2 separate regions of the Homo sapiens genome follow, and region 1 is linked to region 2. The links are contacts of gene promoters, found by promoter capture Hi-C in human tissues and cell types (Jung and others, 2019). All regions are on one chromosome and are shown on one strand. Each heading gives the region's core, a stretch centred on a gene start or on the middle of the fragment in contact. The rest is flanking DNA. Distances are from core to core; before and after follow the strand shown. Region 1 holds the start of LOC107986254 (a long non-coding RNA gene). Region 2 holds the start of CRMP1 (collapsin response mediator protein 1).

What was found. Contacts are between HindIII fragments. The study calls those that stand out against the background at their distance.
Region 1: a fragment that was not itself captured here is called in contact with the fragment with the promoter of CRMP1 in region 2 in 1 of the 25 tissues and cell types used here (dorsolateral prefrontal cortex).

The regions. Positions count from the first base shown.
Region 1 is chr4:4,525,001-4,531,879 of GRCh38, reverse strand. All of the region lies in intron 1 of STX18 (syntaxin 18), which reads left to right. It overlaps LOC107986254 (a long non-coding RNA gene), which reads left to right and starts at 2,737. Exons shown (of 2, transcript XR_001741564.2): 1 at 2,737-3,431; 2 at 4,133-5,412. The HindIII fragment of the contact is 4,750 bases long and covers 1,137-5,886 here.
Region 2 is chr4:5,889,484-5,896,064 of GRCh38, reverse strand. It overlaps CRMP1 (collapsin response mediator protein 1), which reads left to right and starts at 2,979. Exons shown (of 14, transcript NM_001014809.3): 1 at 2,979-3,476. The coding sequence starts at 3,096. RefSeq lists enhancers at 4,374-5,117, 5,118-5,862. The HindIII fragment of the contact is 12,427 bases long and covers 1-6,581 here.

The sequences.
Region 1 (6,879 bases), core at 2,262-4,761, 1.4 Mb after region 2:
AAAAAATGTAGTTTGTTTTTTGTTTAATCTTTTCTCAAATGTAAAAAATTGAATGTTCTAGTATTGATAAAAGGAAAATTATTGCTATATTATTTGAAAGTATTAAATGTTTTAGGACTTATTACCAGTTCTGGATGAGTATAGAAAAAGGCATGTAATTAGAGGCAGTCTACTTAGGAAAGCTTTGACCTGGGAGCAGATCCTTGAAGAGCAAGTCAAGTGGATGGATGGTGAACATGAGCCTGGTGTGCTCAGTGACAGTAAGGAAACCAGCGTAACAAGGCCAGTGGGGGCTTCTTACTCAGCAGTGTGAAACGGGGAGGTGCTGTGGCCTGATTACAGAGGCCTCGAGAGCCATTGTATAACATTAGTGGGCAAACATCAATGGCGATCCTATATTTAATTAATAACCATTTAGAATATAACGAAACATTTATAGTAGCAACAAAAAGAGTTTCTAGTAATAACCTTAAAAAGAAATGTAAATGACCTAGTTGAAGCAAACTGCAAAATTTTGTAGACAGATACAGAAGATTTGGATAAATAGAAACACGTATTGTGTACCTGGAAGTGAAGAAAAAGTGTTGTCAACACAGCAATTATTACTTTAATGCTCACTTTGGCAGCATATATACCAAAACATTTTACACCAAAAAATAATATATGCATATATGAATTTTTTAGTGAAACCCATTAGTCCAGGGTGTGTGTGTGTGTGTGTGTGTGTAAATTTTATCCATGCCAAAGGATGTGTTGTAAATCAGTAAGAAAAGGAAGATTTATTCAGTGATTGGCGGTAATTGGTTAGCACTTTGGGAAAAAAATAAATTTTTAGTTCCTTGTTTCATACATACATTAAAATAAATTTCTAGATGGACTAAAGATTTAACTGTAAAAACAAAACTGAAGAAAATGAAGATGAATGTTGACATACTTTGTAGAAGTGGGAAGTCTTTCTGAGTTTTAAAAGTTTGACCGGGTATGGTGGCTCATGCCTGTAATCCCAGTACTTTGGGAGGCTGAGGTGGGTGGATCGCTTGAGCTTAGGAATTCAAGACCAGCCTGGGCAACATGGCAAAATCTCATCGCTATAAAAAAATACAAAAATTAGCCTGCCGCTTTGGCACACACCTGTAATCTCAGCTACCCGGGAGGCTGAGGTGGGAGGATTGCTTGAACCCGGGAAGCAGAGGTTGCAGTGATCCAAGATTGTGCTATTGCACTCCAGCTAGGAAAAACAAAACAAAACAAAGTTTGCAGCAGCAGTGTTTCTTTTCTTTTCTTTTTTTCACAAAGCCTTAGAAATGTTCACAGAACAGCAGCAGCCTTAATAATACAATAATAATGATTTTGATGATGATGGTGATGGCAGCTGTCACAAGTACCTTACATAGAGACACTACAGCATTATTCCCAAGTATAGAGAAATTGTTAGGTAAATGTGACATACTGAAGAGTATGTCATGACATGAGAATTATATATTATTATATATAATTAATATATGCTTATATTATTATGTTAGCTTAAAAAAATAACTACCCAAACCAATTACAATTAAAACTATGTATGCAAACCCAAAAAACTCTAGGCATGGAAATGACTGGAAGGGAACTCACCAAAATGTTAACCATGGCTTTTTCTGAGTGATGGGACTTGGGTGATTTATTTTTCTGCTTCTATCATCCAGAATTTCTTTAATGAGCACATTTACTTTTGAAATGAAAAGCAAAACAGAACAAGTAAAACTCCTGGCAGATGAGTTTTTATTTGCTGTGGTAGGAAATGGAGAATTAATAGCTTTTGATTAGAAAAATGTTATGAGCAAGCAATATCTAATTCTATATTAAATGTGCAGTGGAGGGGTGGGGGCTATTTAAAGGAAGTCTGTGGTAAAATCTTTTGTAAAGGGAGTAATTTTCCTGTAACTCAGCTGGATTTCCAATCCAGACTTTCTTAATCTATATGAGAAAATCATCCACAAATGTTGCATTGATGTCTTAGTTTCTGGTTGTTATTCTAAAGCATAATAAATGATAATAATGGCTACCACTTGTTGAGCACCTACTGTACCTGGCCCTGTGGTAAAAGCTTTATAATTTATTTGACTATCCTTTCAAGTTAGGCTCCTTTATTCATGAAGAAACCGAGGTTCAGAAGGGTAAGCTATCTCCCAAGATGACGTCCCTGGTGCTGTGAGATGAGTAGTCCTGGCACGTGTGTGCTGTGCTTCTCCGGTTGCCTGCTGCCTCCCCAGCTCTTGGGCATGCACAGGTGTCCTGTGGCAAGTGTGTCCCAGGCTGGGAACTGTGCTCCACTTGGCATTCCACAGACCACGCCTCTGGGGATTTGCTCTTTAGTATGTTATCACATCATCTGCTGTCTTTAGGAGCATATTTTGGTGCATACATTATATATTTGAAAGTGCTTGACTAACTTTTGGGGAAATATGGCTGCTTCCAAACCAACCTTTTTCTTTTAATCAACAATTACCTTGTGACCGTGCATTTCTTTTCTTTCTTTTTTTTGAGACGGAGTCTCGCCCAGGCTGGAGTGCAGTGGCGCGATCTTGATTCACTGCAAGCTCCGCCTCCCTGGTTCACTCCATTCTCGTGCCTCAGCCTCCTGAGCAGCTGGGACTACAGGCACCAGCCACCATTCCCGGCTAATTTGTGTATTTTTAGTAGAGACAGGGTTTCACCGTGTTAGCCAGGATAGTCTCGATCTCCTGACCTCGTGATCCGCCCGTCTCAGCCTCCGAAAGTGCTGGGATTACAGGTGTGAGCCACCATACCTGGCCAACCATGCGTTTCTTAAAGATAAGTGTTGTGGTTTGCTTTTGGGGAAAAGAGAAAAGGATTTGTGGTTTTAGTTAGTAAAATCATTGAGAGGGAAGGAGACCCAATTTATGGATTATAGACATTTGAAAAAAAATTGTAATTCCCTTTTCTGTTGTTGGGATACCAGTTTTTGATTTTATTTGTTCATTAAATGGTCAGTTCCGTGGAGATCTCTGGAGCTGAGATGGCTTTTTAGAATTGCCCAATTGAGGCAAAGGGCCAGGGCTTTTTAACCACTGCATTGGCCAGCCATTGTCTGTGGGCTTCTCCCAGGGAAGGGCCCTAGTGTTGGGTGAGGCACCTTCCTGCTGCTTGAGACACACTCGGCTGTGAGCCAGCAGCAGGCAGTTCTCCTAGTACCTGGGGGCCTCAATCCGAAAGATGCAGTTTAGCCACACAACCTGTATTAGTTCATTTTTTGCATTGCCATAAAGGAATACCTGGAGCTGGGTAATTTATAACGAAAAGAGGTTAATTTTGGCTTATGATTCTGCAGACTGTACGAGAAGCATGGCATCGGCATCTGCTTTTGTGAAGCCTCAGGAAGCTCACAATCATGGCAGGAGGTGAAGGGGGAGCAAGAGTGTCACATGGTGAGAGAGAACAAGAAGAGAGAAGGGGGAGGTCCCAGACTCTTTTAAACAAGCAGATCTTGTGTGAACTGAGCAAGAATTCACTTATCACCAAGGGGACAGCGCTAAGCCATTCATGAGGGATCAACCCTCATGATCCAACACCTCCCAGCAGGCCCCCCCTCCAATATTGGGGATCACATCAAGAGGCTGATCTTTATGGGCTGCATAGTGGGGTTTCCTTGCCCCCTGGCTTCTGATAGGGGTCAACTAATGGGAGGCTCCAGCAGGAGATGGGAAGGCTGGAAAAGAGGAGTTGGCTTGGGAACTGGGTAGAAGCTTTGCATCCACAGCCCATGACTCAGGTTAGGTGTCTGCCCACCAGCTCTAGAATTTTTCCGCTGTGTAAGTCTAGCATCCTGGGGGTTAGGATGATTTAGCCAGTAGGCTAGTACCAGCCAGCAATGGACAAGGCAGCATTGCAGCCTCACTCAGGGTGACCCTGAAAGACAGTGGCTAAGGGATGTCTTCCCCATGCCCAGAACTTGGGCCAAATCATCACTGCCTTTTAATTTAAGGTAGTTTTTAATATATATATATATGTGTGTGTGTGTGTGTATATATATATAAAGACATATATATATAAAATTATATATATATAAAAACATATATATATATAAAATTATATATATATAATTTTTTTCTCTATCTTTCTTCCTTAGGCTCAGCATTACAGTGGGAAAAGTCAAGTATTTTAGGCTCACACAGATTTTTCTCTCAGTGACGTGGCAGTTCATACTTTCCCTCCAAATATGACCTGGTAAATGACTCTGTGGCATGTTGACTGCAAATCTGAACTGAAATGGAATCTGTAACCCATTATCAGATCCTGAATCAAGCTGCCTTGTCCTTCTCCAGTTTTTGTTTCAGTGGAAATGTGTGTTTTTATTCTGTCAATGGACAGTTTACATACCTAATATTAAAAGGGAATTATATAATGAACACTTGATGTAAAAGAGACTAGTTAAATACTTCAACTCCAAAAGTTTCCATTAAAGTAATAAGGAAATTACATTTAATTTTAACTGGTAGAAAGTTTTAAAAAATGTTATTGCTATTAAGCATTTATTACCCACACTCAACCCTTTTTTTGTGAGTGAATTCCCAAAGCACAATTCATCTTTATACAGGTAGAAAGGAAATATTCTTGCAAAATATGTAGTTTGATGTCATCTTAACTGTGGAGAGAAGCATATTTTTCCAAAGAATAGAATGTGATGGTTGATTGGAAACTTTTGGAGTTACAGGCTAGCTCTACCTCTTGAAATAAGAAAATATATATAAATAGGTCCCCAGATGAAGGCGTCGTGGGGTACTTTACAGCCCCAATTGGCTCCAGACACAGAGGCAGTGATTTGTAAGCAAGCAATGACAAGAGGAAGTTAAATCAAAATTAAATTAAGAGAAGGAAGAAAAAGAAGAGCTATCAAGGAGAGGTGATGAATTTCCTGAAAGCTTCTAAATACCTATCTGTGGGTAAATGATTGAAAATCTGTGAATATATCTCACTTATGTCAAAAGATGAAATCTGGAAACATTTCAGTCCTAAAAAAATACCTTACTTGTTATCTTTGAAGCCTTTTTTTATTTTTTCAATTTTTTTTTTGGAGATAGAGTCTCACTATGTTGCCCAGGCTGACCTCAAACTCTTGGGCTCAAGCGTCCTCCTGCCTCAGCCTTCTGAGTAGCTGGGATTATGCATGTACACCACCATGCCTGGCTTCAGAAGTCTTTTCAAATATTCATTACTTGGTACAGTTCAACCAGTACAAGCATATTTGCTTCTATACTTTCCCGTTGACTCAACTGCGATAAAATCAGCATCTTCCATGGTGCACATGAAGTCGTATATTGGGAGGATTGGTTTTCCTGTTTACATTTTGACGTTTTGTTGTTGTTCCAGCTTGTGTAAATAAAAATTTAGGAATTCGAACTCACCAGAGAGCTCCTCCACCCTGACTGCCATTTTTGCAGTTACATCTGTCATTCTCCCTTTTCCTGTCCTCTATCCAGTTAATTACCAAGCCCAAGAAGATAGACACTGTGTTCCACTCCCCTCACAGCACAGAGCACAGTTCAGTACATAGTATTTGGAAATCAATTAAGTGAATAAGCACCTGCACTTTCTCTCCGTCTCATCCATTCTGCTGCTACCATAGGAGTTCAGACTCCTACCATCTTGTGCCTGAGCTGACACAGTAACGGTGAGCCCTCAGTCCCTCTCCAAGCTAAGCCACTGCACGGAAGATGTTGCTTTCATCATTACTTTGGCTCAGAAGCGCTCAGTACCGCTCATTCTCCACGCAAAGATTCTCAGATATTTGGTCTTTATAAAGCTAGCCTACCCACCTCCAGTGTTAAACCCCACACTTCCCCCATCATCCCACCAGTTTTCACCATGCTGCTCTGTTAGCAGTCCCCTCAGCTTCTTGCCTCCTTCCTTGGCTCCTGCTATTTCTCTTGCCTGGACTGCTTGCTCTCCTTCACTTTCTCAAATTCCATTGATCTTGAAAGGCACATTCTAGCCTATACTAGTCTCCTCTTGAATTGAAAGCATTTGCTGCCTGTATTCTTACTATGGAAATATGTATGGCTTGTGACATCCCTTGCCTTATTATTTTGTGTTTTTATCTAGTAATAACATTGTCACTTAACCTTTCAGCTGCGATTGTGTTATCTCTCAAATGATATTGTTTATTTGTGGGCTTATATTGGGCACAGGGGATGGAAAAGGAGAGAGCAGGACTCTATTTTCATGCTTCTTTGTATTTAGCACAGTGGCTCTTGTACCCAGTAATACAGCCTTTAGACAGAACAGACACCATATCTTCTTGGTCTTTGTATTCCTAGTGCCTTGCAGAGCATCTGGCCCATAGTAGGGATTCATACATGGCATTTGAATAAATGAACAGAAGGCACACCTCAAATATTTGTTTAGTAGTTTTACCCCCAAACTAAATGAATCAACACAGGTAATTTTCCATCTTTTAAAAGCCATAAAAATCCAGTTTTCCATTTAGTTTTTTTCATCATTAACAGTTCTCCCTCAAGCACTTCTCCTTTGCCTGCCTTGAGCTTCATACTGAAATTTAAATCAATTTCCTCTCATTCTTTTCCCTGTGAAATTGGAGAACAGCTGTTTAGTCACCTCCTTATAAATAACCCTTCAACAAGTTAAATTGCCTCTAGGATTTGCTTTCTCCAGATTAAATTATCCCAAAGTCTTTTCTTTTTTCTCATAAAGGCCTTTTCAAAAAGAAACATTGGTTACTTTTAAAATTTCTTTTTCTAGCTCTTTATAAAACTTTATTCTTTTCATAAATGTACCACAGGATACCCCTATGTGGGCCTGACTGATGCTGTCTGGAATGGAAAGCTTTCCTTCCACATCTGGAATCTCATTCTTCTA
Region 2 (6,581 bases), core at 1,730-4,229:
GTGTGCAAGGACCCTTATACACAGTATGCAGTTTCAGGAGGGTCCGATCGCCTCCTCTGCATGGGGAGAAAAGAGTGAGAGGAAGTGATATAAAGTCAGTGACACGCAGTGGGCGCCACAAAGGTGTGTTAGATGAATGTCGAATGATTAGTTGCCCAAGACTGCATGCAAAACAGGATTCTAACTCAACCACCTAGACTCTTCTGCCTAAACTAGGTCCCTTTATCTCTTATCTCCCAGTGGGACCACCTCAGTCAGGCTCTTGGGGAGAGGAAAGGGTAGTTGTTTCGATGTGGACTCTGGCACCAGACTACTCTGTTTAAACCTCGAAGTCTTACTTGCCAGCTGTGACCCTGGACAGGTTATTTATGTCTCTGAACCTCAGTTTTCTCATCTGTAAAATGAGGCTAAAATGGCAGTTTCAAGGTTGCTGCGAGGCATAAAAGAGTTACTATCTGTTAGGTGCTTACCATGGTCCGGGCACGTAGTAAACTTTCTATAAGCAGAAGCTATGAAGATCCTTTCCTGCTTCTGCATAAAGACAGCACTTTCTCAGCTCCTTCCTTGCGTCACTCCCTCTAGTCTTGGCAACTGCCCAGCCCTTTCTCACAATGGAAAGGGTTTTCTTTAGAAGCAGTAAGATTTCCATCACCACCAACAAAGCCTGAGAGACTGTGTCCTCAAGATGTTGAGAGCAGATTCAAGCATGCAGTAGGAGGCCTGGCCTCCAAAGTTCCACCTAACTCAGACTTTTGAGTTTTCTGATATTTCTCTGGGTTATGTCACCCTGAACATTTGTGGGGTTTTAGAAGAAATTTCTATGTGGTTTTCGACATGAATTGTTCTTGCCTGGAATGGGCTGGGAATAGTATTTCACAGGACAGAGAAAAATTTTCATTGAAAAATCGAAAACACTTGCAAGATAGCCTGGAGGCTGATGGGCCTCAAGAGGAGTGTCTGTGGCAAATCTGCACAGTGGACCCAGGGACACAAGGAGAGAGGAGCCAGGATGCAGCTGCGGTGGGTGGAAGGTAGATGGAGGCTGTGTGTGGAACTTTCTGTTCTCGCATTCAGCACTCTCTCCCCCATGAGAGTAAACACTTGTTGAAGACAGAGACTTAGAAATACTCATCTGTGTCCCCACACTAGCCTCTCTCTCAAGCACAGAAAAATAACTTGCTAAATGCCCACCGAGTGGATGAGCCCACGCTCTAGGCCTGGCTGAACCTCCTTGAGATTGAGGCCCTGAGGGAGCCATTTCACATCTCCCCTCCTGTTTCCTCTTCCAAGAGGGGGCCGGTAAAAATACCTACCTGCTGCACAGACCCCTTGTTGCAGGGTTGAAAGACAGTAGCTTCAGGGAGGTGTCAGCTGAGGCCACGGATCCGACGGCCCCAGGATCCTCAGTCCATGGGGCCCAAGAGTCATAAAACAAGAACATGAATCCATCTGTCTGTCTGGTATTCCTGGAGCTTGGTCACGCTGCGGGAGCTCTGGCTTGCAGCTGGCAGGGCCCGGGGTTGAAGGGACAGCTCCCAGCATGGAAGGCTATGGGTGGGGGGACATTGCAAGAAGCACTGATGCTCCCCTCTGCAGTCCCCACCCAGTCCTGACTTTGCTTGTCTAGACTGGCTCGAGGAGGGGGTCGGCAGCTGGCGATTCTGCCTCTCCAGGAAGTGCAGCTGGGACTGTAGGGTCCCCAGGGACTTGCAGGATCCTCTGCCTGATAATCGTGGAGAAATAAGGGAAGGTGTCTATAGGAGGCAGGTGGTGCCTGGCCTTAGAGGAGAGCCCCAGCAGAGCGACCTCCACGACAGAGAAACCCCAGAACGCCCAGACTGCAAGCTCCAGGAGCAACAAAAGTGGACTGTGCCCCTCGAATGAGGGAATATCTGTCTGTCTGGTTGACTGCCAGCTGTGTGTGTGTGGTCATCTCTGTCTCTGTGTGTCTTTCTCTGGAGCGTTTTTATTTAAGCTTTTGACTTCCTTTATTACTGGTGTGGACTTGTGTGTGGGCATCCTGTTGCCAGTTTATGATGCACATGTGTGGAATCGCCCTGAGCTTGCCTTTGATATTGGTGTGTTGTGTGGTGTCATTGGCGTGCACGTGTATGTGTGTGTCGCTGATTCTCATGCAAGAATGTGCTTCTCTTATGTGTCTGTCGGAGTGTGCCTCTAGCATGTCCCTCTTGGCTGCTGCACCACCTTTCCTGGCCCTTACCACCTCTTGGCCCACCATATGGGTGCTTTTGTATCCAATTCCCCTCCTTAGCAGGTCAGCTCCTGGAGGGCAGGCACTTGGTCTCTTTTGTCCATGGCTCTGTTCCCAGCTCCTACAACAGTGCTAGGCACTAGTGGGCGCTCAGCAAAATAAAACTGACGGAATGAACGGTGTGTCCAACGCATGTGCCTCTCCAGTTGTGCAATTAATCTTGGTGTGATACTGTGTGTGAGTGGGGTTGTGAGACAATGAGGATTTCTGTTGTGTGTTTGTAATGAACTCGGAATGTGCACAAGCATATATGTGTATGTGTGTGCAACATTGAGTATGGTGTGCATGATCGAGCCCCTGTGTATCTCTGGAGAGCATGTGTGATTGACTCTCGTGTGTGTGCCAGCATGTCTGTGCATCTCTCATGTGTTTGGCGTAATTGTCTGGTGTGCAGGTATGAACCCGCGTGTGCCTCCAGAGCGTGTGGGCGCGCGAGTGTACGCACACGGCTCCTGCCCCGCGCTCTCCTCGCGCCCTGCGCTCCGCCTGGGGGCGGAGAGTGGGGGGTGCGGCGAGGGCACTGCGGTGCCGCGGCCCGCCCTCCGCGCTGCGGCTCGGGAGCGTCACCGTCCCTCCCCGCCCCAGCCGCGATCCCCGCCTCCTGGTCCTTTGTAGCTGGCCGCGCCGCTAGCCCGCAGCCGCCCAGAGGCCCCGCCCCGGCCCCGCCCCGGCGCGCGCCACGCCCCGCCCCTCCCCTCCCTGGGCCGCAGTCGCGCCCGGGCCGCCGCAGGCCCGCACCGAGGCGCGGAGCGCGGCGCACGGCGGTGCCCAGGGCCGCGGGCGGGCAGGCGGGAGCGCGGTGGGTGGCCGGCCTTGGACGGGTATGGCGGACCGGCGGCGCGCGTGGAACACCGAGGACGACCTGCCCGTGTACCTGGCGCGGCCGGGCAGCGCGGCGCAGACCCCGCGCCAGAAGTACGGCGGCATGTTCGCCGCGGTGGAGGGCGCCTACGAGAACAAGACCATCGACTTCGACGCCTACAGTGTGGGCCGCCGCGGCTCGGCGCGCACGCCGCGCAGCGCTGGCCGGCCCGACGCGGTCGGGCTGCCAGGGCCGGGAGGCAGCGAGGACACGGCCAGCGACGTGAGCGAGCCCTCGGGCTCCGCGGTCAGCTCTCCCGGAGAGCGCGACGAGCGGCCGCCGACGCTGCGCATCCGCCGCCCCGCGCCCCGCGACCTGCCCCTCGGCCGGGACAATGGCCAGGTACCCTCGGGGCGCGCGCGGGCCAGACGAGGGGGGCGGGCCCCGGGAGGACCCAGGGCATGGGGCGCCCGAGGGCCATGCCCGGGCCCCGGTGTTGGGGCAGCGGCCGCCAGGCTGGGGAGAGCCACGGCGCGGCCCCTCCCCCACCTCATCATGCAAGAGGTTCCCAGAGCTGGGGCGACTCGGTCGGGGCTGGCCGGCGTGGTCCGTGAGACTCGGAAGGGATCGCCCGGGTCCAGTCCCGGCTCCTCTTCTACAGAAAGGGAGAGAGGTTCTGAGAGGGGAAGTTGGCTAAAGCTACCGCATGGACGCTTAAACGCGAAGGAACCTCTGGGATGAATCTAACCCAGGCCCCTCATTCTGTTTTGTGAAAAGAACTGGAGCTCCGTTCCGTGTTGGTCCATTCATCCATCCACTCAGTCGGTAGTAATTATAGAGCACCTACTGTGTGCCGGGCCCCGGGAGAGGTTCCGCGAGTCGCCTGCGGCCACACAGCTTAAAGCTGGAAGGAGCTTTTTTTCCGAGCGCTCCCCTCATGCTTGCTGGGGGGAAGGATTTGGTTAAGGATTTAGTTCGTCGGGCAGTTGGAGCCGTAAACCCCTACCCTCAAGCGCCAGTAGATTCAAGGGGCACTCCTGAGCTCCACAGCACACACCGATGTGCCTGCTTCACAGAGCAAGGTGGAGGTAGAGCTGGGATTTGAACTGGGGTCTCTGGCCTCCCGGACCTGAGCATGGGGCCGGGAGGATCAGGGAGAGGGAACGCTAGGGCTTGGGCCCTGCGGGTATTCTCTCTTGAGCTGGGGGTCACCAGGAAACTGGGGGAAGAAGGGCGGATGGACGGCGTAGCCTTTGGATGGACCGACGAGAGCCAGGGTCAGGTGCCAGAAAAACGGAAGTTGGAGCATCCGAGGGCTGGGGAGCTTTCGAATTGGTCCAGACCTGGATGCCGGAGAACTGCTAGGTGCCAGGCCCAGGGTAGGCGCTAGGTCCCTGGCTCAGCAACCTGGCCCCACCCTCCAGAAGTTCCCAGGCTAGGGTGAGCGACGGATTCATTGTGAGAATTAAATCAGTTAATGCCGGTCGGTAGTGAGCATTCAATAAATGTTTGTTGTTGACTTTTATTACAATCATTATCATTTTAATTAAACCTTCCCCTCTTAAATGCTATGAGTGACCCAAAGTGAGCCTGGAGGGAAGCAGAGCTTGATCGGGGCAGATATCTGGGAGGGCTTCCTGGAGGAATAGGAGCAGGGAACTGGTAAACACGGTGGTGGGCCTCTTCGGGCCCCATCCCTTCGCGGGCGGGCTGTTGCTCCAGAGCTCTCCGTGGTCCTGAAGCCGGAGCCTCGCGAGGGAGAGGTCCAACAGCAAGGGTGTGTGTGTGTGTGTGTGTGTGTGTGTGTGTGTGTGTATGTGTGTGTGGTGGTGGGGTGATCAGAAAGGGAGATGGTGCGAGAGTCCAGCTTCCTCTTCCCCCACCCCTTCTGTATCTCCCCCTGTCCACTACCTTCCCTGGTGGTCCGACCTCTCTTGGGATCCAAACTCCCGAGCCCGATGGGGAGGCTTCTGGGCCGCGGGCCGAGAAGCGGGACCAGCACCAGGGAATCCGGGTTTCCAGCCAAGGCGCTTTGCTCTCTTGGGCCTCAGCTTCTCCATCTGTCAGATGGGGGTGGCCGTCTTCTTCCGGCCTTCCTCAAAGCGTGGTGGAGTACTAGGGAGGCGAGGGCGCTTTGTGCACGGCCCGTAGCTGTCCCAAGGAGAGTTCCTCTGGAACTGCGGTCAATGTCACCAACGCCAGCATCTCCCCCAGGGCGCAGCCTGGGCCAGCCCCGCAGCTGCGCCCTGACCCTTGGGGACGCTGGTCGCTTCACCTCTCCCGTTCCTCTCCCCTACTCCTTCCTCTTCTCCCTGTGGTCCCCTCTGCCTTTCTCCATGGCTTCTCAGGCACCGGACAAAAGGCAGCGCCTCTGGCGCTCCCGGGGCTCCGAAAGCACTCGAGCTTCGCGACTGTGGAACTCAGGGGCTCGCGATCTCCACGGAGGGAGGGTTTTACTTTCTGCCGGCAGAGCGGCCTTGAGGCTTGGGTTACAGTGGGCTCGGGTTCCGGGGCGGGCCTCACCGCTCCAGGGCTTCGCAACGGGTGCCCCGGCCCTTCCCCCCCCGCCCACCAGGCTTCTCCCTGGGCTGCAGGAGGGGTTTCTGCGGCGCAGGCGCAAGGATTGCCGCTGCCGGAGGCTGAGCGGCTGCGGCGCTTTGTACCGGCGAAATCTGCTTGGGAGCAGCGATCTGTTTGGCCAGTGGCAGGCGGATGCTCCTCCCCCTGATACGCACGTGGTCTTGTCCCTTGCTGTAGGGGCTTTCTGCTCAGATCTCCAGACTGACCCCAGGGAACGCCCTGGTACGGGGAACCTAGGACTTAACAACTCCAAGGAAGGGAGTGTAGGAGTTGGGGAGGGACAGTGTCCCCATCTGCAATTTCCGGTCATTGACAGGGATTTTAGGCCCCGCTGAGAGCCAGGGATGCATGAATGCGTGGAGGGAAATGAGTTGTAAACAGAGTGTAGGGGAACCTGGCATCTCCATGCTGCTTTGCTGCAGCTAATATGTTTTGCACCCGGGGTACATCATTTTACCTCTGTAAGCCTCAATTTCCTGTCTGTAAAATGGGAAAATTATGCCTAGTGTTCCTGGGATACTGAGCTGGCTTCTCTGTGAAGCTAAAACCTCACCTCTATTTTAAGGCCCAGGTGTCTCTGGCCTCCTGCCCTGGATTAGGGGACTGGCCCCTGGGGTGGTGAAGGTCAGGGCCCCAGCCCCCAACCACAGTGCTGGGGGAGCTGTACCAAGCCTAGGCCACCCTCGCTCTGGATGGCAACTTGAAAGCAGAAAAGATGAGTAGTTTCATAGGACCTGTGGGGTTGGATTTCGCATGCAGAAAATGAACAACGAAGTGGTGGACAAGGTTGGTGTTTTATTCTGCCTGGGAACTTGGGGCACCTGTCCAGTGAGGTTGGGGCTTGCTGGGGCTCCCCCTTTTCCTCCATCTTCTTTCATCTTTTCCCCTCTGCTGTTACGGACCTTGTCAAGCTGTGACCTGGCTTCC